Linked DNA regions of Homo sapiens: all the other regions are linked to region 6. Evidence: promoter capture Hi-C in 16 types of primary human blood cells and fetal thymus (Javierre and others, 2016). All regions are on one chromosome and are shown on one strand. Each heading gives the region's core, a stretch centred on a gene start or on the middle of the fragment in contact. The rest is flanking DNA. Distances are from core to core; before and after follow the strand shown. Region 1 overlaps TESPA1 (thymocyte expressed, positive selection associated 1). Region 2 overlaps TESPA1 (thymocyte expressed, positive selection associated 1). Region 3 has its middle 30 kb from the start of NEUROD4. Region 4 has its middle 22 kb from the start of OR9K2. Region 5 has its middle 49 kb from the start of OR9K2. Region 6 holds the start of DCD (dermcidin).

Region 1 (3,608 bases), core at 783-3,282, 330 kb before region 6:
GATCAGACAACAGTAATTATGTATTATTTTTTCCTAGGTATGTTTTGCCTGTAACAAGCAGAGGCACTAAAAACAATTTTACTGCCCTAGGAATGCATTTTATGTTCAGGATGTTCTTTTCAAAAAAGCTATTTTAATGCCTATTTTGTTGGATGCCTCACTAATGGTTTTAAGTGTTGGAAGAACAGAAGTCTCTGTAAACTGGTAGTCTTCTTATTTTATTTTATTTTATTTTATTTTATTTTATTCCAATAGTTAAAAGTGTAGCTCTTAAGATGATGTTGTTTATGGCAGCTCGAGGAAATAGGGGGATAAGACCTGGAGAGTTTCAGCCCCACTCCTATTTGCTCAGTGTGGTGGGATGCAAGTGTGGCCAGCTGGGGAGAGGCAGCAGGACAGAGTATGAGCCAATGAATATTACATTAGCTTCAAGCTTTTTTAAGCTCTATTTGGACAATTGAATGATTCTTCCCCTCTGTTCCTCTTTGAATGTGTATCTAGTGCCATCATTGTGTCTCTTGGAAAAATACATCAATATTTGGTAATGTTACATGAAATATGAATCGACAGGATTAGTAATTGCATTGATGAGCTGAGGAATAAATTCATAGTTAGGTAGAAGCACAAGTTGACAAATTAGAAAGTCATTATCCTGAAGGTGCTGGCTGCTAATTGCTTAAGGCAGTGTCTCTCTGCTTTTAATCACAGGGTATTTTTTTTTTTCTGAGAGAAATCATATGTGGACTCCTAATATATAAAACAGGAACATAAAAAATCAAGACAAAAACTAAACAAACAAAACCCAGAATTCCTATAGTTGGAGTGACATCCTGGTTGTGGGACCTTAGAAAATCTGTTTTACCTTTGAGACCCTAAATTTTTTCATATGTCTTGATGAGGATTAAAAAATGAAGTGAATTTTATAAGTTGTAAACTTAAAGATGTTTTAGTCATAATGGAAGATTCTGGTAGACAACATTCTTAAGGATTAAAGAAAAAATGTTTTCTAATACAGCATTTCGATTACCCTGAGAAATAGAGATTCTTTAAGTCAGAAGAGTTTTCTTAATGTCCATTAAATCATGATGTTTGAAGCTTTCAAACTTTCTGGCTTGAAAGACTTATCCCGGTATTTAGAGTTTTCAGAGCATTCCTTTTTTGCAGGAGAGACAGAAAATGAGCTAGGCATGTCCTCCCTGCTTTTGAATGGTCAGAGAGACCAAGCTCCTTTGGGCAGACACAGGAAAATTCAGGGGGCAACCCTGAGCATCATGATGGTTTCTGAGCATATGATGAGGGAGTATCACTGTTTTTCAACTCTTAGGACGGCATTACTGTTACGGGAGGCCCTGAAGTCTGAGCCAGGGCCATGGAGGCCTCTGTGCTGAGCCCCACATCCTGGGAGAAACGGCGGGCCTGGCTCCGTCAGAGCCGTAACTGGCAGACCCAGGTCCTAGAAGAGGAGGCTGCCGCCGCCCTGCAGGATGTCCCAGATCCTGAGCCTTCCAGCCTGGATGACGTTTTCCAAGAAGGTAAGAGACGAACATCAGACAGGCGTCTATGTTGTCTGGCGGCAAAAGGTGACAGCAGGCCCAGGTCTGCAGAGTGTGAACAGGTTCCTTGTTTAGCCAGGCCCTCAGGGAGGACTGTTTTGACTGGTTTAAATATGTTTAGGAGAAAAGCTAAAGTAATACGAAATATGAATTATGTGAGAAAGAGACAGGCATAAGATTAGGAAAAAGGGAAGGGCACATTTTTGCATCATCCTGAGAAGCTTCTGTAAGAACCTGAGGCTGGGGGCTCTCTATGAATGCTTTGGGGTGTTTCTATTTTGTCTGTGTAACAAGACCACACCCAAGCTGGATGCCTGGACTCTGGCCACAATGCTGTCACTAACAAGCTGTGTGGCCTTTGGGAAGTCACTCACCTCTCTAAGACTTATTTGTCCAATTGAAGTAGTAGTACCTTTCCTACACTTCTCAGAGCTTCTTTGAGGTTCAGATGAGACCACAGTCATAAGAGTAAAACAAAAATTCTGATGGAAATAAATGCTTATTTGGTAGGAAGCAAAAAGCACAAAAACAAGATTGTCTTTCTTTTTCTTTTTCTTTTTAAATGAGAAGGATCCACCCTTGTGGGAAAGGAACTCTCAAAAGACAGCAGTGGGCCTGACATCTTGGGCACTTTCCAGGTTCTTGGGAGGAAGGGAGAAAAGAAGCAGAGAGAGAGAAGAAATATCTACTATTTTTATATACGGTGTATTCCTCTCATATCTTAAAGAAAAGCTTTATGTAGAAAAAAAGATTCATGACGCAGCTTATGTAAGAATAAACTTGTGGAATGGAATTAGTTGCAGGGAGGAGGTCTGATTTCGTTCAGTTCTCACAGTGATCTAGTGTCTGACTTTTCTAGGGAATCCAATCAATAAAATTGAAGACTGGCTGCAGGATTGCGGGTAAGTGCTGGACAGGCAATGGGGTGGTATGTGGCTGATGGTTGAATTTGCTAACAGACACAACTCCTGGAAACTCAGAGACGGGAAGATGGATTTGATTTGGGCCTAAAGATTAGAAGTAAGGTTGAGATGGTGGTTGGAGGGGTGTTGCGGGTTTAGGGTGAACTGGTGATCACAATTGTGAATCAAGTGCAACTTGGGGCTAAGACTAAATTAGGCACGAGGTCTAGGAATAGAGGTTGGGTTTGAGCTAAAGCTAAGAGTGGATGGGGAATAGTTGGGGTGAGTTCCAGACCCCTACTCCCCTGACTTCCCCCTTTAGATTGGAGTCTTACATTGTGTAACAAAAGGAATTGGAAACCTGATCATTCTTGCTGAAGAGCAATTCATCTGTGTTATTTATTTCTACTGCAGAGCACAGGAGAAGCTTAGGGTTTATGACAGTCATTCAAAGCAGGGGAGAATTGGAGCAGGCACTTCAAGGCAGTGCATTATCTCTTTCCTCAGAGATACTTTAAATTATGAGACCCCACAGCCCATCAGCCTGTACCGTTCTTAGGCTCAGTATACCCAGACACAAAAGGAAGAATTCTGTGATCTATTTAGTCTTCTGTGTAATAATGAATTCTCAGAATGGACAACTTCTGCCTGCTCCTTATTTTCCCTCCAGGAATGGCTCAAGTTTTATATAGCCTTTAATCTAAACTCATCTATTAATTGGCATAAAGAAACCCATTCTTGCTTATTTGGTAGGAAATAAATAACACCAAATAATCCAAGGTTGTTTATTTCACCTGTACCCAAGAAGGCAATGCCAGGAAGGATTTATTTTGTGTTTGTTTTGTTGTTTGAAAAAACCTATTGTTCTCATTGCCCTCATCTTATTCATAATTCATTGATTTCAAAGTCAATTAGAGGACCCACAGAATACAGGAAGAAAAGAATGGTGGTAATCAGCATGTTTGCAGGTTTGGGTGAGAAGCCTAGGATGAGAACTGTCCTAGGATTTAAAATACTTACCAGATATGTACAGGGGAAACAGTCAGCTCAGTTAATGTCCTTATCTCATTAACTACTCTTGAGTCATCAATTCATGTCAGCAATTATTAATTACGCTTTTGCTAACTGTCTGATTATCTGAATAACCTAGAGG
Region 2 (4,006 bases), core at 818-3,317, 310 kb before region 6:
AGGTGGAAGTTTTCATTTTTATGGTCACCCCTGCTGGTGGCAGCAGAAGAGACAGGAGGGACTAGGTGGGAATGCTCGTTCAGAGCACAAGACAAAGAAGAAAACTAGCTTGAGATACCCCCAAATGGTGGGTAACTCAAAGCACTATCTGTTTGTACTTGGTGGAACCTGTGTAAGTTGGGTAGCTACAGTCTTCTCTTTGATGTAAGATTGTCCTATGTGATAATATTACCAATAACAATATATATAGGGATTACTACATAGCAGACAGTATCTTTAGCACTTATGGATATTAAATCATTTCATCCTATGACATAAGGTCTTTCATTATTCCCCATTTTATAGATGATGATACTGGACACATTTTTATATCAAAATAAATTCTGAAGAGGGACAGTCAGATGTGAAGTGTAAGAAGAGATTAGACAAGGGGGAGGGATAGTGGGAGGACATCAAGAAATTGTGAATATTTTTCCACCTCATTTACAATTCTTACCAAGGTTGTTTTGCCTCTGTTGGGAAAATATAATTAAAAACAAAATCTCCTCCCACCCCAGGAAATCACTCCACAAAGGTGTAAAAGAAAGAAAGTTTTATTTTTGAATACCATTGAAGCAGACTATGATATGTATTACAGAACATCCACTAAACAGATTGCAAACACAGAACGAAATCTTACCCTTGTACATAGCCAGGCAGATACAACCCATTACATGGCTGTTGTCAAATAAACAATACTTTGTCCTCAAGTAAGAAGACTTAACAGAATCATTTGTCACTCACAGTTCACCCTAGACTTACCTGGTAATTGGAGTGGCCATCTGTGTCAGTCAATTGGCTTTATGCAAAGAAAAAAATAAACCTCATATTTTTAAGACAGGAAGTGGTTTTTGCAAGTTAAAACAAAGTGCTTAAGTTAGATGCCCACCTGCCCATTGAGACTGGAAGAGACAGGTGCTACCCTCCTTGATAATTACATTTCAAAGGGATGGATGTCAACCTTTGTCCATTTTTTTAATTGGATGATCTATTTGTTTGTTTTGTTATTAAGTTGAAGAAGTTTCTCATATATTTTGGAATTATCATTTATTGAAAGAAGACATACAAGTGCACAACAGGTATATCAAAAGATTCTCAGTATCACTAATCATCAAGAAAATGCAAATCAAAATCACAATGAAATATTACCTTAAACCTGTTAGGATGGCTATTAGTGAAAAGAAAGATACGTGTTCGCAAGGATGTAGAGTAACTGAAACTTCTGTACACTGTTGGTAAGAATGTAACATGGTGCAACGGCTATGGAAAAGAGTACTAAGTTTCCTCAAAAAATAAAAAGTGGAACTACCATATGATGTAGCAATCCTATTTCTGGGTAATTATCCAAAAGAATTGAAATCAGGATCTTGAAGAGATATTAGCACTCCTATTTTCACTGCAGCACTATTCCCAATGACTAAGATGTGGAAACAAACTTAATGTCCATCAGTGGATGAATAGATAAAGAAAATGAGACATATATATACAGTGAAATATTATTCAGCCTTTAAAAGAAAGGAAGCCTTGCAATATGTGATGGCATGGATAATCCTGTGGACATCATCTCTCTATATAAGACTTATATGAGACAATATTTCTGAAAATGCTATACAGTATAATTACTAGAGGCTCTTTCTACCAGAAGGACTGTGTAAAGTGGTGTGGATGAAGCCAGGACCTCCTCTTCTCTGCACATCCTCAAAAGCAATTCTTACATTGCTTTCTATGTGAATGTTGACACCTGATGTTGTGTGCCTTGGCAGCCTTGGAAGTAATCTTGGTGATCCATTTGAACTACAACTTAGAAAATGGGGATTAAGCAATGCAGATAAAGATTATCTTTCTGCCTTCCACAGCCAAAGAAAGAATGAGACAGTATAGATAAAGGGAAGACTGAGGAAGAGAAAAGAAGATACAGAAGTGTTATTTTGTCTGTGGTTTTGCATTTTGTGATTTCATTTACCTGAAATCCATTTTATACTTGAATGGGCTCAAGAAAAGGACTTAGCAAGATCATGCAACTAGTTAGTGTCAGAGCCAGAACTAAGGCCCAGGTCTCCTGAGATCCAAGCCAAGGCCGTTTCCATCAGAGCATATGGCCCTGATTGAGCAGAAGTTTAGGCTGTTACTGTGGATCAGGGCAAGCCTCGCTACCTGTACTTGGATCTGAGCTTCATTTACTGTGTGCCTTGACCCTTTATGCTAAGTACCAATACTCTCACTACCTTTGTCACCACTGAAATGTACTTGCCTTCTTATAAAGTCACCAGCAAGAGAAGCATTATACAGAATAAGCAGAAATGTTCACAGGATGCTTTGAGCTCATAGTTTAGTGAAAAACATGACAAGAGAATCAGTAATTATTAATAATTTTCATTAAATGCCATAGGGACCAGAAATTAACCTTTCAGAAGATGGCATTACTTTTTTTAACGATGTGTGTTGGCAAAGATGTAGAGAAGGTAGGCCGGGCACGGTGGCTCACGCCTGTAATCCCAGCACTTTGGGAGGCCGAGGCGGGCAGATCACGAGGTCAGGAGATTGAGAGCATCCTGGCTAACACGGTGAAACCCCGTCTCTACTAAAAATACAAAAAAAATTAGCCAGGCGTAGTGGCGGGTCCCTGTAGTCCCAGCTACTCGGGAGGCTTGAGGCAGGAGAATGGCGTGAACCCGGGAGGCGGAGCTTGCAGTGAGCTGTGATCGTGCCACTGCACTCTAGCGTGGGCGACAGAGCGAGACTCCGTCTCAAAAAAAAAAAAAGTAAATAAAAAAAGATGTAGAGAAGGTAAGTCTGGACAGATGTGTCCAACATTGAACAGGGAGAAGGTGGCTGAGGAGAGTAGAAAAAGGAAAAGCAGAATATTGATATTCTAGGCAGAGAGAAAGGTAAGTTCAAAGACAGATGAATGGAATACCACAATATCTTATGGAAACTACACCTTATGCCTAGTGGGAGAAAGGGGATGTGCTGGAGAAAGATCAAAACTGAAAATAAGAAAGATAAATAGAAAGGAAGTTATAAAACAGAGTCTCCTATGTTATTTTAAGTGTTTTGGTTTAGTCTAAGGTAGGAATCCACTGAAAAATTTACAAAGGAAGTGATGTGATTAGATTTGTCTTTTAGAAAGATTATTCTGGTAGAAGTATGGGAGATGGACTGGGTAGGAAGCCGGCAGAGTAAGGAAAATAATTTAAGAATCTACTGCAGAAACCTAGGGAGAAATGTGATGATCAGAAACAAGCTGAAGGCAGTGGGAATAGAGGGGAGGACGAGTGAGATTTTGAGATATTCAGGAGGTAAAATATCTAAGCCAGGACCGATTAGACTTGTGTTTGGGGAAGAAAAATGGAATAAGGAACAGAAAGAAAGATAGGGCATACAGGTTTCCTCTTGGGCAACTAAATGGATGTAAATATCATTTTATTAAGAATGAAGTAAAAATAGGAATAACAATTTGGAAGGCAAATATATTAAAGTATAATTTTCAAAAAGGTAAAATAATGACTCTCATGCAAATGTAGATAAACATGTTCAAAGACTTTACTCAATTCATTAATTACTGAAGGCACCAGCAATATGCTTGACCTGGTCCAAAGACTATTTGAGAAGTCAGTTTATACAGAGAGAGAATTTAACAGATTGCCATATTAGATACAAAACTGGTTAATATCCAATAACAGCATAAACTTTATCTCTGGGATTACTGGTTCCACTGGATGGAAATTATTTGCATCTCTACCCAACATAAATCACTAAGGTAATCTCTGCTCTTGCAAAACTATAAAATAGCAGTGTAAATAGAAAGTCAAGATTAACACTGTACTGAAAGAGTATCTAGTCATCTTGTTTGACTATTTAGAAAAAGCTGATGAGTTCATATCTGAACATGGTGAGTGTAAGGTACTTCTAAAATACTGTGATAAAGAGGTTCATGTCTTCATTGGTTTCTGTTGCTATAATAGAA
Region 3 (4,087 bases), core at 1,355-3,854, 400 kb before region 6:
ACCCACTTTTGTTTTTTTGTTTTTTTTTTTTGTTTTCTTTACCCAAGCCCATATTGAGATTACTGAGTTAAATATCCTGGTCAAAGTATAAGAACAAAAGAGACAAAGGCAAATGTGGGAGAGGATGTCTGGCGTATAGGCTCCCATCAGTAACTGTGGTGCATCCCCTGCTACCTCTGCCTTTTCACCCTGCTGCCCACAAGTATGCAAGCTCAGCAGCGCCATCCACAGAAGAGTCCTAGAACATTCAGTGTAGACCCAGCTCTCCTGCTCACAGGATCTATGACCTTTAATGGATTACCTAAACTTGCTGTTTCTTCACCCCTAAAGTGTTCCCTGATCCTAAACAACTTAAGAAGATATTACGTATGTTCCCTCATGGGAAAATTCCAGTTAGGGTTGGGAAATAGAGTATGATTTCTTTAAGGATATCATCATACCAAAACTATGAGGCAGTGGCTTGTCCACAGAAGGACAGAAATGCAGAATGGAAACCGTAGGCATGGCCAAGGATGCTAGAGACCAAGTCAAGCTGACCATGGAGTCAGAGTGCCCAGATACTCTAACCAGGATTGAGTCAGCAATCCTAAACTAGGTAAACTAGTAAACGTTAAGGAAAAATAATTTCTGACAGTGAGGAAGAGAAGAAATTGGCTACTTGTACACATAGGACAAAATGATCCATCCTCCCTCAAAAAAAGGAACATTGAAACCATCACTACAAACAGAGAAGAAATTCGAAGTGCCATTAAATATCAGACCATCATATATAGTCTACCTCCCTTTCAGTTAAGCGTGCACACACACACACACACACACACACACACACCCCTACATACTAGTTATCTGCAGTGGGCATGGGTTATAAAGAACTTTTTTATATTACACATTTCTCTTTTGAATTATTTAAAATAACATTATATTCTAGTCCTCAGATGGCCACACAGTTATACAGAAAACTTTAAAACTTGAAATCATTATAGTGCCAATGAAAAAGCAAATAATAAACCTGGACTGATAGTCAAATAAGATTAATGATTCGATAAGGATTATAAACCTATCGTGTATCAGAACCAGGGTTTCACTATAAGGGTACAAATCCAATTCCACTTCTCCAGGTTTACAAAGAACCAATATGACAATAAAGATCCTTTAAAAAAATCTCAAGTTAAAAAGACATATATGATGTTCGGAATAAAGATCCTATATTCAAACTTGTACACAAAATAATACTATGGCCATAAATATTGCCCAGTAAAAAGGGGGCTGATTATAAGCCAAGGTTTATGAAAGAAGATAAAAAAGGAAGAGTTAGGTGCTGTTTGGTGAAGATGTAGTTATTCTAACAAGTAGCAGAGAGAAGGCAGAATTCCACTTCTGACTGACCCAGTACAGAAAGCAGTCTGGAAAATACAGGAAAATAAATATTTTGAAGGTGAACTTCGAAGCTCATAAGGAGAAAAGATTATCAGAGAGCACTGAGTTGGGTTAAGTAAACTTAAGCCTCTCGAAACAGTAGTGCCAAATAAAGATGAAAATCTGATTGGCGATGTGCTTGCTCTTCATAACATGGGTCCCTAACCCCTGGGCCGTGGGCCAGTCCCCATCCTTGGCCTGTTAGGAACTGGGCCGCGCAACAGGAGGTGAGCTGTGGACGCTTGAGCTTTATGGCCTCAGCTCCACCACCCGTCAGATCAGCAGCCGCATTAGCTTCTCATAGTACCACGAACCCTATCGTGAACTGCGCATGCGAGGGATCCAGATTGCACGCTCCCTACGAGGAGCTAATGCCTTTCCCCAGTACCTTCACCCCCCACTCTCCACCCCGCATGGAAAAATTGTCTTTCACCTTCCACGAAACTGGTCCCTGGTGCCAAAAAGGTTGGGAATCGCTGCTTTATAATATTTAGGAAACTTTTGAGATAAGAAAATGTTACCATGCTTTTCAGTAGAAGAAAAATTCTGCAATCTGTACATAATGAGCTTGACTTTATTCTGTAACAATGTTGAAAAATGGATGACGCAGCTAACGGTTCCTGTTTTCTATCTTATTCAGTGTGTTTCTCAGTGCAGCTATTGCAAATTCAGATGTATTGGGATTTAAGTCCACAACAGCCACTTTTTATTTTATTTGCCCAGACTTCATAGAAAATAAACACAGCTACAAGTTTGAGGATTTTTTATTTTCATAACAGGTCTAAATAATTTAAACAATGATGGATCAGATTAACACAGTTCATTAAAATTTGTGTGTAGGACAACTCCCAAGTAAGAAAAAATATTCTCTAGAAAAAAATGAATAATTTACAATACCTTGTAAACTTTGAGGTCATTGCAAGCTTTGATTAAACGTTACTCTGGCAGGCATTATTGGTTGCCTACCCGGTTGTCATTCCCATTTCCCTTATTCTCAATCACTGGAGGCTGCCTCAGGTGATACGGAGTGAAAAATACAAAGTATTCATGTTGCTAGTCTTGCTTTCATCTGCGGATGCACAAATTCCAGTCAATCCCACACTGATTTTTTTAACTAATTAAAAGAGAGAAATAAAGAGGAAGAATGACACCACCAAGAAAAGCAGGTTCACCACCTACACCCACTTTCCTTCCTGATATTGTGTAGAATTGTGGAGGACATGGTGTTTAGACCTAGGTCAGCTATCTTTTTGATCATCCTAGCAACAAAGATTTGATGAAGACTTAGCATGTATCAAGCACTTTGATTATTGGGGATTAGAGACAAAGAATTAGGTCAGGGAGGGGATTATGGTTCATTAGCTTCAGGAAACTGGTAATTATTTTTGTGTGTCTAAAATCTATGAGATTCAGTCAATGGCATGGCTAAACATATAAACAAAGAGTAAGCTTTGGCATATGCTGAAAGAATAAACACACACATACATGCAGACACAAAGCCATTCTCATATGCACACACACCTATTGAATCAAGAGTTTTGGGATCTATCTGAAGGCCGAGGTCCATTCTTGTTAAAGCAGTGAGGGGGGAGAAAAGGATTTATGTCAGCTTTGACGGGGGGAATGGATCCTGCAGGCCTTTCATAAGAAACTTGTTTTTCTCCTTCTTAGCAAAATTCATTCCCATAAGTTTCTGGGGTATTTTTCCCCCTGGCAAACGTGGATAAGGAGTAATTTGTGTTGTGTCTAATAAACTCTATGAAAGTTCCTCAAAGTGACTCAGTGGCAAATTTTCCAGTGAGCAGTGCATCAAGGCATGATATTAAGTGAGGATTACCATTCTCTCTCCATTTGCCCAGGTCAGGGAAAGCAGTCACCTCTCTCCTCTCCCAGTGCCATCCCAGAATCACCTATAGTGATTCAATTCAGGATCTAGGAGTCAGAGACCAATCGGCTGAATTTAAACACAACTTATTATGTATAAACTTTTGAGGACTAGACTCATTAGTGTAAAATCTGGAAGTCATTTATATTAGAGTATAATTCATGAAATTTACTGGTTTTTTTTTTTTTGTTTTTTTTTTTTTTTGAGACTAAGTCTCGCTCTGTCGCCCAGGCTGAAGTGCAGGGGCCTGATCTCGGTTCATTGCAAGCTCCACCTCCCGGGTTCATGCCATTCTCCTGCCTCAGCCTCCAGAGTAGCTGGGACTACAGGCGCCCGCCACCACACTCAGCTAATTTTTTGTATTTTTAGTAGATACGGGGTTTCACCGTGTTAGCCAGGATGGTCTCGATCTCCTGACCTCGTGATCCGCCCTCCTTGGCCTCCCAAAGTGTTGGGATTACAGGCGTGAGCCACCATGCCCAGCCGGGTTTTTTTTTTTTTTTTTATAGCAGTGTGTAGAGGGAAATTTATAGCACTAAATGCCCACAAGAGAAAGCAGGAAAGATCCAAAATTGACACCCTAACATCACAATTAAAAGAACTAGAAAAGCAAGAGCAAACACATTCAAAAGCTAGCAGAAGGCAAGAAATAACTAAAATCAGAGCAGAACTGAAGGAAATAGAGGCACAAAAAATCCTTCAAAAAATTAATGAATCCAGGAGCTGGTTTTTTGAAAGGACCAGCCGGGTTTTTTTTAATGTAGCTCATCAAGATTGAAAACCATC
Region 4 (3,730 bases), core at 756-3,255, 460 kb before region 6:
GCCTAAATCATCAGAAAGAAAACAATACATTTCTCTCTGGAATAAAGGGAAGATCTTAGAGATCTGGAATAACCGTGACTATTATGGAGCTTTTGTGCTAAGTTTACTCTGACTTACAGCTGCCACTGGAAAATGAGACTTCTAGTTCTCATAATGAGCATGTAAATTTTAAAAATGCCTTTTCTATCCTGAAGTAATTCATTTCTTACAAAGATCTTTTGTACTTTTTCTGTATCTGTGGCAAATTCTCTCTTATGTCAGGAAATATTTGGAAATTAATTGGTTGTAAAGCCATTTTCACACACTGTAATAACATCTATTTCAAACAGGCACATTCCCATCTATGGGGAGAAAATGTGTAAATGTTTCCCAAAAACTTCTGAAACTGGTTTTGTATGGCAAAGCCTCTGGCTTTTAAGAAAAGTGTTCATAATTTGAACAAACTGTACAAAATAGAACAAATGAATGAAAGAATGGAATGAAGAATGGGGAAAATTACTTTTGAGAAGAAGAGTTTCATGACTATGAAAAATCTGATGCTTCTGAGTACATGATTTCTCTTTCTCCTCTTTCATACTATAAGAAAGGCCCATAGAAATATACAAATGATGGAAAATTCAGATGTAAAACTGTGCTTCACGTACTGACAACACGAACTTAATGGTGCTTAAAGTTATGACCCTAGCTGAACCCTCAATCTCACTCAACAGGTGCTACAGAAAAAGCAACACACAATATGTTGAGAGTTAGTCAGCTAAAAACTGTTCCTGAATGTGCTAATCTACCTAAGAGTTTGATAAGAATAAAGTGTGTTTTGAGTCAGAAATACTTTCTCAGCAAACATATTGATATATCTTCACTTATAGAACTACACAGTAGTCTGTTTATCAAATGAAGCTGTTCTTCATTAGCTTATAAAGACTAGAAAAGCATTTTTAATATGAGAGAACTGTAAAATTTTCTAGAAATACTTCATGCAAAATGTTCTACATTTGTTGGCTTGCTTAAAATAAGCTTCCGACACTTGATAAAACTTACTTAAGGAGAAAAATAATTTAGCTAAATTTGTAATGGTTTTGGTTATTAGGCTTCACGACAGGTGGCAATGTAGTGCAAGTTGTTAGAGAAGAGTACGAAGTAAACTTCAGTATTCTCAAAAAAATGGGATTTATATTTGATATATTAATGTGGTAAAAAAAAAACCTTGTGTAAGCTGACAATTTTGGCTTAGAAACAATGTTATTTCTTCTGCCTGCTCTTATCAGTTTTAAAAATAATGTGAAAATAATAATTTCATTTATACAAGATTTAGGTTCATTTTCTCACACAAAGCCTAATCAACTTAAATTTCTTTAATTACCTTTACTAGATTTTATAATAAGTAAGTTCTCACTTTCACATAAATGATATAATAAGCGGGAATTTATAATTAAATCAATTAAAAGCTCAACTGAAGCAAAGTATAATATCTGGTTACTTTTAACAAGTATTTCCTCTTATAAACATATTTACTTCTTATAATGCTGATTATGATGAAAATTTAATAATTCTACTTACACTACTTGGAAAAACATTTAAATACCATATCCATGCATGACAAAATGCTCAGTCTTCAAATATAGGTTTAATATATACATGGACTTCTTTTATTACATAGAATATAAACTGGCCATCATTTAATATGTGGAAAAGAATATGTAGGATTTGGGATGCATTAGTATCATTTTCATATTTAACACTTTACGGCATATCTGAAAAGTCATGCCTGACTATGGGAGCATGTGTATGGAAGAAAATAAAGGGAATAACACCAATTTAAAATTGTCTGGTTGTGTCAACACATTATAAAATATAAAAGACAACTTTTTTGTTATAGTATGTTGTAGAAGGTTTGGAGGTAGACTTTCAAAAAATGAGTATGAGAAAAAACAATAAAATGTTTACAATTTTGGCCATTGTTGGGTGCCTCATGTTTTATTTATATACCGGGGAAAATCTTTTGAATCCTCTCATGCAACATGTTACACAGATGGTAACATGACAAACTGATTTTTGAGTACATAGTCTACCCTAAAACAAGTTAATTGGTTCACAGAGTGCAGACGCTCTTTATAGTGTCAAAATAATCTCACTCGAGAACTATTAACATTGTGTACTTTTCTATGTATTGAAAACAGTTTTTAATTTTGTCTATTCTGAATAAGCTAGAATTTCTAATTATCAGTTTTTGCTTCTCTGTTTATTTTCACTCTAGCCTGAAACTATAACCATTTTTAATGGTTAGTGTTCATATCTTGTCTCTTCTATCAACTCTTCCCAAATTCAAGCCACAAATTCAGAATAATGAAACTCTTTTGGTGTCTCTTTCCCAAACAGCATCCACAAAAACTTTCCCAGAGAGCATTTACAAAGATCTTTGCCGTAACATTATAACAGAAGAAATCCATGAGATTCTCCATATTTATAATGGTATCAGAGTAAATGTGGGATCAGGAAAGCATTCATAGTAGTCAATTGGTGGGACCTGGCATAGGATATCAGAGCATGGTTGAGTTGTAGATGGTTTCCATATAGCAGAAAGGCCCAAGGCAGAGTGTTGGATAGTGGTCAGGATGCAAAGGGTATTTACACAGGTTTATACTAGCAGCAGCCCAGCAACAGGTGCAGAAGCCAGATTAGGATAAAAAGAACAATCATGTAGGGGAAAGAGAGACAGCAGTAATGAGAGTATAGAGAAAATATAAAGCGGAATTAGTCAAAAAGTAAATATATTAAACATAATGAGTATTGGAGAGGGAGTTTGCAATATGCAAATTGAGAAACCAGAATAAACTCTGTACTGTTGGATTGGAATTTATAGTGTCAGAATAGATTCACTGTAATAGTCCATTCTCATGCTGCTATAAAGAACTACCTGAGACTGGGTAACTTATAAAAGAGGTTTAATTGGCTCATGGTTCTGCTGGCTGTACTGGTAGCATGGCTGGGGAAGCTTCAGGAAACTTTCAATCATGGCAGAAGGTAAAGGGGAAGCAGGCACATCTTCACATGGTGGAGCAGGAGAGAGAGAGAGAAGGCGGGAGGTGCTACACATTTTTAAACAACCAGATCTTATGAGAACTCACTCACTATCACTAGAACAGCAAGGAGTAAGTTTGCCCCCATGGTACAATCACCTTCCATCAGGTACCGCCTCCACCATGGGGGATTACAAGTCAACATGAGCTTTGGGTGGGGACAGAAATCCAAACCATATCACTCATCATTTTCAATATGTAATAGATATAGAAATGTAGGTGCAAATGATGGTATGTATGCATACATGAATGAGTGCACATATGAATGTATGTGGATGTGTACATATACATATATACATATGTATGTCTGCCAACTAAGAGACCTACCAGCACCTAAATAGCAGTAACATTGAACACACATCACCCATGTCTTGATTTCTAAATACACTTCTCCACTAAAAGGAACCAGGGATCCTTGGAGAAATGCGTAATTTCATATCAGATAGGCAAAGAACACAAAAATCTGTTCTGTTGTTTTGTGTCAAAAAGTATAAAGTGTTAAAAGAATGTTGGAGATAAGTCAAAAAAACACAGAAGCTAGCTCAAAGAAACTCCCACTGGCTAAACTGGGGATAATCTGAGCATCAAAATAAACAATGTCAATAATGTATTATAACACATTAAATAAAGTAGAAAACCATGAGTTCACGCTT
Region 5 (3,734 bases), core at 223-2,722, 430 kb before region 6:
TTTTGGCAGATTCTCTGGGCTTTTCTAGATATAGGATCATATCATCTATGAAGAGATATAGTTTGACTTCTATTTCTTTTCGGATGCCTTGCATTTCTTTTTTCACCTGACTGCTTTGGGTAGCACTTCCAGTACCATGATGAATAGGAGTGATGAGAGTGGACATCCTTGTCTTGTTCCAGTTCTCAAGGAGAATCCTTCCAGTTTTTGCCCATTCAGTAGGATGATGGCTGTGGGTTTGTCATAGATGACTCTTATTATTTTGAGGTATGTTCCTTTAATGACTAGTTTCTTGAGAGTTCCTATCTTGAGGGTTCTTATCATGAAGGGATGTTGGATTTTATCAAAAGCTGTGATGATCATACGGTTTTCAGTTTTAATTCTGTTTATGTGGTGAATCACACTTATTGATTTGCACATGTTGAACCAAACTTGCATTCCGACAACGAAGCCCACTCGTTCATGGTGAATTAGCTTTTTAACATGCTGTTAAATTCAGTTTTCCAGTAATCTGTTGAGGAATTTTGCATCTATATTCATCAGTGATATTGGCCTGTTAGTTTCTGTTTTTCACTGTGTTTTTGCCAGATTTTGGTATCAGGATGATGCTGGCTTCATAGAATGAGTCAGAGAGGAGTTCCTCCTCCTTGATTTTTTGGAATAGTTTTGGTAGAATTGGTACCAGCTCTTCTTTGTACATCTGGTAGAATTTGACTATGACTGTATCTGGTCTGGGGCTTTTTTTGGTTACTAGGTTTTTCATTACTGATTCGATTTTGGAACTCAATATTTGTGTGTTCAGTGTTTCAGTTTCTTCCTGATTCAATCTTGAAAGATTGTGTTTCAGGAATTTATCTATTTCCTCTATATTTTCTAGTTTGTGTGCATAGAGGTGTTCTTAATAGTGTTTGAGGATCTTTTGCATTTCTGGGGCATCGGTTGTAATGTCAACTTTGTTGTTTCTGATTGCGCTTTAAAAATTATCTTTAAATTAGGTAATTTGTACCATGCCTGGAGTAAAAAGCCAATTGAAAGACATAGAAAAGTAATAATATAAAATAATGTAACTAATGTATCAACTAATTAATAGGTGTCTATTAAATTTAAAATCTAAATATGCTGTATCATTTGCTTTAAGAAAAATAACTATAAGATATATGCAGATATATTTAATGTTAACAGCAAATATCTCTGGAAAATAAGCTTACACATATAATTCAGATTTTAGATTTTGAATAGAAGCAGTTTTTACTATGCAAGAAACTACTTATTTGATAGTATAGCAATTAAAAGTATGAGTTATTTAAAGAGCTGATGAAAGTTATAGACTTGATCCCTCTGAGGCAGATTCACCCATGATATTCTATACATAAATATAGATCTGTAGATTAAAAGATAGGACTCGTATATGTAGCTAGTTTAATAAATATTTAAGCTGCAAGTATAGAGATAATACAGACCAGATACCAAGGTGGATGTTATATCATAATGTAAAATCCACAGAGATGATGGGTAAACACCTATTTTAAAGTTTATAACACATCACATGCAGCAAGCTCTGCAATAGAAGAGTGGGTGCAAGATTTAGTTTAGTCTTCCTTTGCATAGGAATTCTTCTCTCCCATCTCTCTAACCTTTCATAATTGAAGTGGAGAAATGAAGAAAGAGGATAGGGAAATTCAGATTTGAAGATACTGTTATTATGATATACCGTCATAGCTCTCTTGCTAGGAAAAGCTTGAAAATTGACTATTTTACTAATGAGTTTTTGCAGGTTCTTCAAAAATTCTCCCCAATTCCTGAGTCTCTCTCCCCAATGGTTCCCTTGGTGAGAATAACTACTCAGAATTTCTATTCGTTATTTAGTTTTGCCTCAGCACTTAGAAACCCCACAGTATCACCAATTTCTCTCCACTGATATCTAGCATGTGCTAGGACTGCCTTTGGAATAGAATATTACAATAAAAATCCATTTCCACATCCTGAAACACTAGCTTCATCTAATATTTATATGCTCTGTGTGTAACACATGAAATCAAGAGTCTCAACTCAATTTAATCTGCATTTTTAAAATAAGAATGATAGCAAATTTCAGAAACTATCTTAGAAATTGATGATTCTTGCATAAATAATGAAATTGAGGAATAAATTAAGAAGTTCTTTGAAACCAATGAGAACAAAGAAATAACGTACCAGAATCTCTGGGATGCAACTAAAGCAGTGTTAAGAGAGAAATTTATAGCAGTAAATGCCCACATCAGAAAGCTAGAAAGATCTCAAATTGACACCTAACATCACAACTAAAAGAACTAGAGAAACAAGAGCACACAGATCCACAACCATCTGATCTTCAACAAACCTGACAAAAACAAACAATGGGGAAAGGATTCCTTATTTAATAAATGGTGCTGGGAAAACTGGCTAACCATATGCAGAAAATTGAAACTGGATCCCTTCCTTACACCTTATACAAAAATTAACTCAAGATGGATTAAAGACTTAAATGTAAAACCCAAAACTATAAAAACCCTAGAAGAAAATCTAAGCAATACCATTTAGGGCATAGGCATGGGCAAAGACTTCATGACAAAATTGCCAAAAGCAATTGCAACAAAAGTAAAAATTGACAGATGGGATCTAATTAAACTAAGGAGCTTCTGCACAGCAAAAGAAACTATCATCAGAGAAAAGAGGCAACCCATAGAGTGGGAAAAAATTTTTGTAATCTATCTATCTGACAAAAGTCCAATATCCAGAATCTACAAGGAATTTAAACAAATTTACATTAAAAAAAACCATTAAATGTGGGCAAATGACATGAACAGACACTTCTCAAAAGAAGACTTTCATGTGGTCAGTAAACACGAAAAAAAAAACTCAACATCACTGATCATTAGAGAAATGCAAATCAAAACCACAATGAGATGCCACCATCTCACTCCAGTCAGAATGGCAATTATAAAATGTCAAGAAACAACAGATGCTGGCAAGGATGCAGAGAAATAGAATGCTTTTACACTGTTGGTGGGAATGTAAATTAGTTCAACCGTTGGAGAAGATGGCGTGGTGATTCCTCAAAGATCTAGAACCCGAAATGCCATTTGAACTAGCAATCCCATTACTGAGTACATACTCAAAAGTAATATAAATCATCCTACTACAAAGATAAATGCATGCATATGTTCATTGCAGCACTACTCACAATAGCAAAGACATGGAATCAACCCAAATGCCCATCATGGATAGACTGGATAAAGAAAATGTGGTACATATTCACCATGGAATATTATGCAGCCATAAAAAAACAAGATCATGTCCTTTGCAGGGACATGGATGGAGCTGGAAGCTTTTATCCTTAGCAAACTAATACAGGAACAGAAAACCAAATACCGCAGGTTCTCATAAGCGGGAGCTGAACAATGAAAACATATGGACACAGGGAGGGGAACAATGCATACTGCGGCCTGTCAGGGTATGGGGTAGGGGGAGGGAGAGCATTAGGAGAAATAGCTAATGCATGCAGGCCTTAATATCTAGGTGATGGGTTGATAGGTGCAGCAAACCGCCATAGCACATGTTTACCTATGTAACTAACCTGCATAGCCTGTACATGTACCCTGAAACTTAAAATAAAAATTAAAATTAAAAAAAGAAATTGATTATTCTTTTTTAATTATGAAGAATAAATCATTTTATTAATTGAATCCAAGGTCTGTTATTCATGTTAAATATAT
Region 6 (4,167 bases), core at 843-3,342:
GCCCACCGAGATCAGATAAGATAAAGGCTGAAAAGTGGCGACTGTATCCGAGTACCTTGGCAAGGATGTATCTCGGTTCCAGGGATGGTGGTGCAAACATTACAGGGTGATAAGAACATAAAGCAAAACACGGATGTTGAGGCCAAAAAAAAAATGGAGTTGTTTTCAAAAAGCTTGGTTGCAGAAGGATTGGAAAGAAGCTAGATAGGGAGAGTATAAAGGGAACATTTTGCTTATTTTTAAGATGTCTGTATGTTGAAGGAAAAAAGCCAAGAAAGTCTCACAATGAACCACACAACAGGAGAGATGGTGAGAGCTCAGATGGACTGAGTTCCCATGGAGGTGAGAGGTAGACATCCAGAGAACAGGGAAGAGCCCCAGAAAGTTGACCCAGAAAGTGGATCTGAGCTATTCCTGTTCGAATTTCACAAGTACCCTGGGTCACACTGTGGAGATGAGAGTCAGAGAGATTATGTGACATGCCAAAATCATTCAGCCTCTAAGTGGTGGAGCACAACTTTGCTTCAATCCCATAGGCTAGGAAGAGCATGCTTTGTCTACCAGGACAGAGTCCCCTGCTACCATCAATTGTCCCTTCATCTGTCTGAGATCCTTGCCTACTGTGTATCCCCTCAAGGCAAGACCACAGTCTACTCATCTTTATCTGTCTGGGTCCAACACGGTGTCTGGCACAGACAGAGCACCTCAGGAAACAAATCTCAGTCCATTTTCACCAAGGTCCCAGGAACAGGGCAAGGGCAGGCTCCACTCCGTGGAGAGAAGACATCTCAAGGAAGTAACTGGCTTTGTGAGGAGCAGAAACTAAGGTTCCAAGTTATCCTCAGCTCCCCAGCTTGGGTCTGGAATAGATGGAGGAGGGAGCTGACCAGTTTTGACACATGTATTCCTCACACGAAACCTGTAGGATTAAAATGATCATTTCTCACCATCAAATGCAAAACAGCTGAAGTGGAACACAAGAGCTGGAGTCAATAATACTGTATTGAATTTGGGATTTTTGCTGGAAGAGCAGATTTTGGGTGCTCTTACACATACACACACACACACACACACACATACAGAGAGACACACACACAAAAGGCTAATTATGTAAAATCATGGATGTGTTCATTTGCTTGATTATAGTAACCATTTCACTAAATACATGTATATCAAAACTTCATGTTACACCTTAAATATTACCATAAAATAAAAGAAGAAAGAAAAACAATTGAAGTGGGGCAGGTAAATTGCCTCTCTGAAGGCCACACAGCTAGTAAACAACAAAATCGAGTCATAAACCCACATCTCCAGGACTTTCTGCCATTTCGAAGAAAACACAAGTCCGCAGGAAGGGATTCTGAGGCAGAGAGAAGCACCTTTGGATTCTCCACTTCTCTGGATTATCCACACCACTGGCCTCCCTCCCCTATATGAAGGGCAAACTGGGAACTGACTTCATATTCTGGTTAACTTACCAGGAGAATTTTCTGGGGTAGAGGATCATTAGCTGGGACTGAAGACACCCTGGTCAGGGCCTACTGAGGCTGGGAAGCTCTGGTTACCACATGGAGACCCCTAGAGAGGACATCAGCCTCTCTGGACCTTAGTCAGGTGGGATCCCCAAATGCTGTGAGGGCAGCCCCCTAGGGTGGGCTTAACCCACTCAAGGGAAGCCTCAGCCACCCCCACTCTCTCCTAAGGAGGCTGGATCTGACATCTTGGGCCCCCCTTCTGTTTCCAGGTGGAAGGAGAGCCTTCTGGGCACAGCCCTCCTGCCAGGGCCCTCTCCAGAAACCTCTCACAGTCTTCCCCAGGACCCCAGATGCAATCAGAGATGGGAGCCCAGGGACAAGCGAGATGGGAAGGGGAGAGGCAGGAAAAGGATGCCAGTCAGGACAGTGCCAACTCCAGAGCTGCTGTCCAGGACCTACCTGCAGGGAAGGCGGGCACCAGCCAGCCCCAGCCAGCCTTTGTTGACTTAACAGGTGGCTCTGAGGTGGGAGAAGAGGAGGAGGAGAACACACCACTGGAAGACTGGTTCCCATTGGTCCCTGTCATGCTTAAAAAAAGGCCCAGAGAGGCAGTCTTGACACCCTAGATCCCAAGATCTCCAAGGATTTGGTGGCATACCCACTCCAGCACACAGAAGCATGAGGTTCATGACTCTCCTCTTCCTGACAGCTCTGGCAGGAGCCCTGGTCTGTGCCTGTGAGTATGGCTCTTCCCCGACACCCAACCATATAGTCCCCTGAAGACTGGGCCCTGCCTTCATTTCCCCTTCCCCTCCTCGCCAGAGGCAGTTCACCCAAGTCTGTCTCTGTAGCCCACTCCTGCCTCCCACTAGGTTCTCCACACAGGGACTCTATGGTCAGAGGAAGCCAGGAGCCCTGTGGCCCCAGCCTGGCTCTCCATTGCCTCTCCTCTCAGTCTGTGATTGGCCCACTCTGCTCCAACCACTCTGGCATTCTTTTTCCCCTCAATGAACCAAGCCATTTCCCACTGCCAAGACTTTTGCACATCCTCTTGTCTTTTCCCCTGCCCATTATTTCACCCACCCACGTCAACCTCCTTCCTACTCAATTTCCAAGTGTCCGCCCTGCTAGCTCTCTGTGTCCATGTATTTCCTCACAGCAGGCTTGCTGAAGCCCCAGAATCATTTTGGCCCCTATTTTGCATTTTCTTGCCTCCTGTATTTTTCCTTCCTAGCACTATCACAAATGTAATTAAATAATTGTTTATGTAATTATGTTAATTCCTCCAAATCCCCCATTGACTGTCAGCTTCCCCGAGCAATTACACTGTCTGTCTTCCTCACAGCTGTATCTCTAGCCTCTAACACCATGTCTGGTGCATAATGCGTGCTTCATTCATGCTTTTGGAAGAATAAAGAAATGGAGGGAAGGTCCTTCTGAGGTCATTCTATCAGGTGACAATCAGAACAACTCCTGCCCTGTCACTAGAGCAGGTGCTGTGGTCATGCCCTCGTGGTCATGCCCCTTCAACTTTCATTATGAAACTTGGACATCTAAGACATAGAAGAGAGTCAGAGAATGATTCCATTTCCATAGGGATGTTCTGAGTAGCCTAGGTCTAGGGAGGATAACAGAGAGAGGGATTTGGTTGAGATACCAAAAAGCATTTCTAGTGGGCCCCTTGTGAAGCAGAGATTTCTCTCCTGTCTGTCCACTGCCACACTCCTGAGATTAGAGGCCTGGGAATTCTAGGCAGCCCTGGCTGGATACAGCTCATGCAACTGTGCCCTACTTGACATGGTCACTGTTCCCTCCTTTGCAGATGATCCAGAGGCCGCCTCTGCCCCAGGATCGGGGAACCGTGAGTCCTTTCTCTTCCTCCTGCCCCAGTCCTGGGTGGGAGGGTTAATGACTTGGGATATGAGTGGAGGAAGTCAGAGAAGCAGAAGGGGGGTCCGGGGAAGGAGAGTTGGGAGGCCGACTTTTAGGAGACATGGAGAAGGGAGACTTCCTGAGAGACTCATGCACTGGAGAAGGACAGAGCATGGGGGAAAGGGTGGCCCTGTCTGGAAGTAGAAGTGGAGTAAGAAAAATGGGAAAGAAAAGAATACTTTTCTTGAGCAAGAGGAGGAACTTCACATTAGATGGGTTCAGAGGTTTTCATCTGCCCCACCTTCACCAACAATTTCAATTCAAAAACCTTTCACGTGGTTTCCCATTTCTCATCACGAAACTCTCACCTCCTAGCCTGACATTCAGGGTATCCATGATCTAGATCCAGGGTACTTTTCAAATATAATTTCCCTAGACTCCACTGCTTGCATTCTCCACATCAAACGTTATACATTTGTTTCATCAGACAGCATGAGTAACTTTCTACTACCCAACGTTCCTCTTCCTGGGTACCTTTTCAACCCCTACCTGTCCGTGCTCTAACAAGCTTCAAGTCCCAGCTGCTCTCTGAAGCCCTCCCTGCCTGGTGTGTATGGTGCCTCTGTCCCAGTCTCTCCTTTCATCCCTCCCTCTTCTGGGCTTCCCATATATAGCAGTTTTGTCTCTTTTCCTAGACTGTAAGCCCCTGAGAGAGAGATCTAATTCTCATTCATTTCTACTTCCCCAGCCATGTACACACTCTGGATAATTAACGGCAGAAAGATAAACTGTATTTCTGCACATCTTCACTGCACTGCGA

The links. Contacts are between HindIII fragments. The CHiCAGO score rates a contact against its expected background, and 5 or more counts as called.
Region 1: a contact is called between a fragment that was not itself captured here and the fragment with the promoter of DCD in region 6, in 1 of 17 cell types (M1 macrophages). The highest score is 6.0, in M1 macrophages.
Region 2: a contact is called between a fragment that was not itself captured here and the fragment with the promoter of DCD in region 6, in 1 of 17 cell types (neutrophils). The highest score is 5.1, in neutrophils.
Region 3: a contact is called between a fragment that was not itself captured here and the fragment with the promoter of DCD in region 6, in 1 of 17 cell types (activated CD4 T cells). The highest score is 5.9, in activated CD4 T cells.
Region 4: a contact is called between a fragment that was not itself captured here and the fragment with the promoter of DCD in region 6, in 5 of 17 cell types (total CD4 T cells, activated CD4 T cells, non-activated CD4 T cells and 2 more). The highest score is 6.4, in total CD4 T cells.
Region 5: a contact is called between a fragment that was not itself captured here and the fragment with the promoter of DCD in region 6, in 10 of 17 cell types (naive CD4 T cells, activated CD4 T cells, naive CD8 T cells and 7 more). The highest score is 8.5, in naive CD4 T cells.

Annotation. Positions count from the first base shown.
Region 1 is chr12:54,972,324-54,975,931 of GRCh38, reverse strand. It overlaps TESPA1 (thymocyte expressed, positive selection associated 1), which reads left to right. Exons shown (of 11, transcript NM_001136030.3): 2 at 1,325-1,532; 3 at 2,413-2,455. The coding sequence starts at 1,370. Among named protein-coding and RNA genes, the nearest start is that of TESPA1, 11 kb to the left of the region's middle. RefSeq lists enhancers at 906-1,415, 1,416-1,927. The HindIII fragment of the contact is 511 bases long and covers 1,777-2,287 here.
Region 2 is chr12:54,952,318-54,956,323 of GRCh38, reverse strand. The region is part of intron 10 of TESPA1 (thymocyte expressed, positive selection associated 1); the gene reads left to right. Among named protein-coding and RNA genes, the nearest start is that of TESPA1, 30 kb to the left of the region's middle. The HindIII fragment of the contact is 8,424 bases long and covers 1-4,006 here.
Region 3 is chr12:55,047,523-55,051,609 of GRCh38, reverse strand. No RefSeq gene overlaps it. Among named protein-coding and RNA genes, the nearest start is that of NEUROD4, 30 kb to the right of the region's middle. The HindIII fragment of the contact is 526 bases long and covers 2,342-2,867 here.
Region 4 is chr12:55,102,927-55,106,656 of GRCh38, reverse strand. No RefSeq gene overlaps it. Among named protein-coding and RNA genes, the nearest start is that of OR9K2, 22 kb to the left of the region's middle. The HindIII fragment of the contact is 1,978 bases long and covers 1,017-2,994 here.
Region 5 is chr12:55,075,403-55,079,136 of GRCh38, reverse strand. No RefSeq gene overlaps it. Among named protein-coding and RNA genes, the nearest start is that of OR9K2, 49 kb to the left of the region's middle. The HindIII fragment of the contact is 534 bases long and covers 1,206-1,739 here.
Region 6 is chr12:54,646,290-54,650,456 of GRCh38, reverse strand. It overlaps DCD (dermcidin), which reads left to right and starts at 2,092. Exons shown (of 5, transcript NM_053283.4): 1 at 2,092-2,211; 2 at 3,298-3,336. The coding sequence starts at 2,154. The HindIII fragment of the contact is 3,742 bases long and covers 176-3,917 here.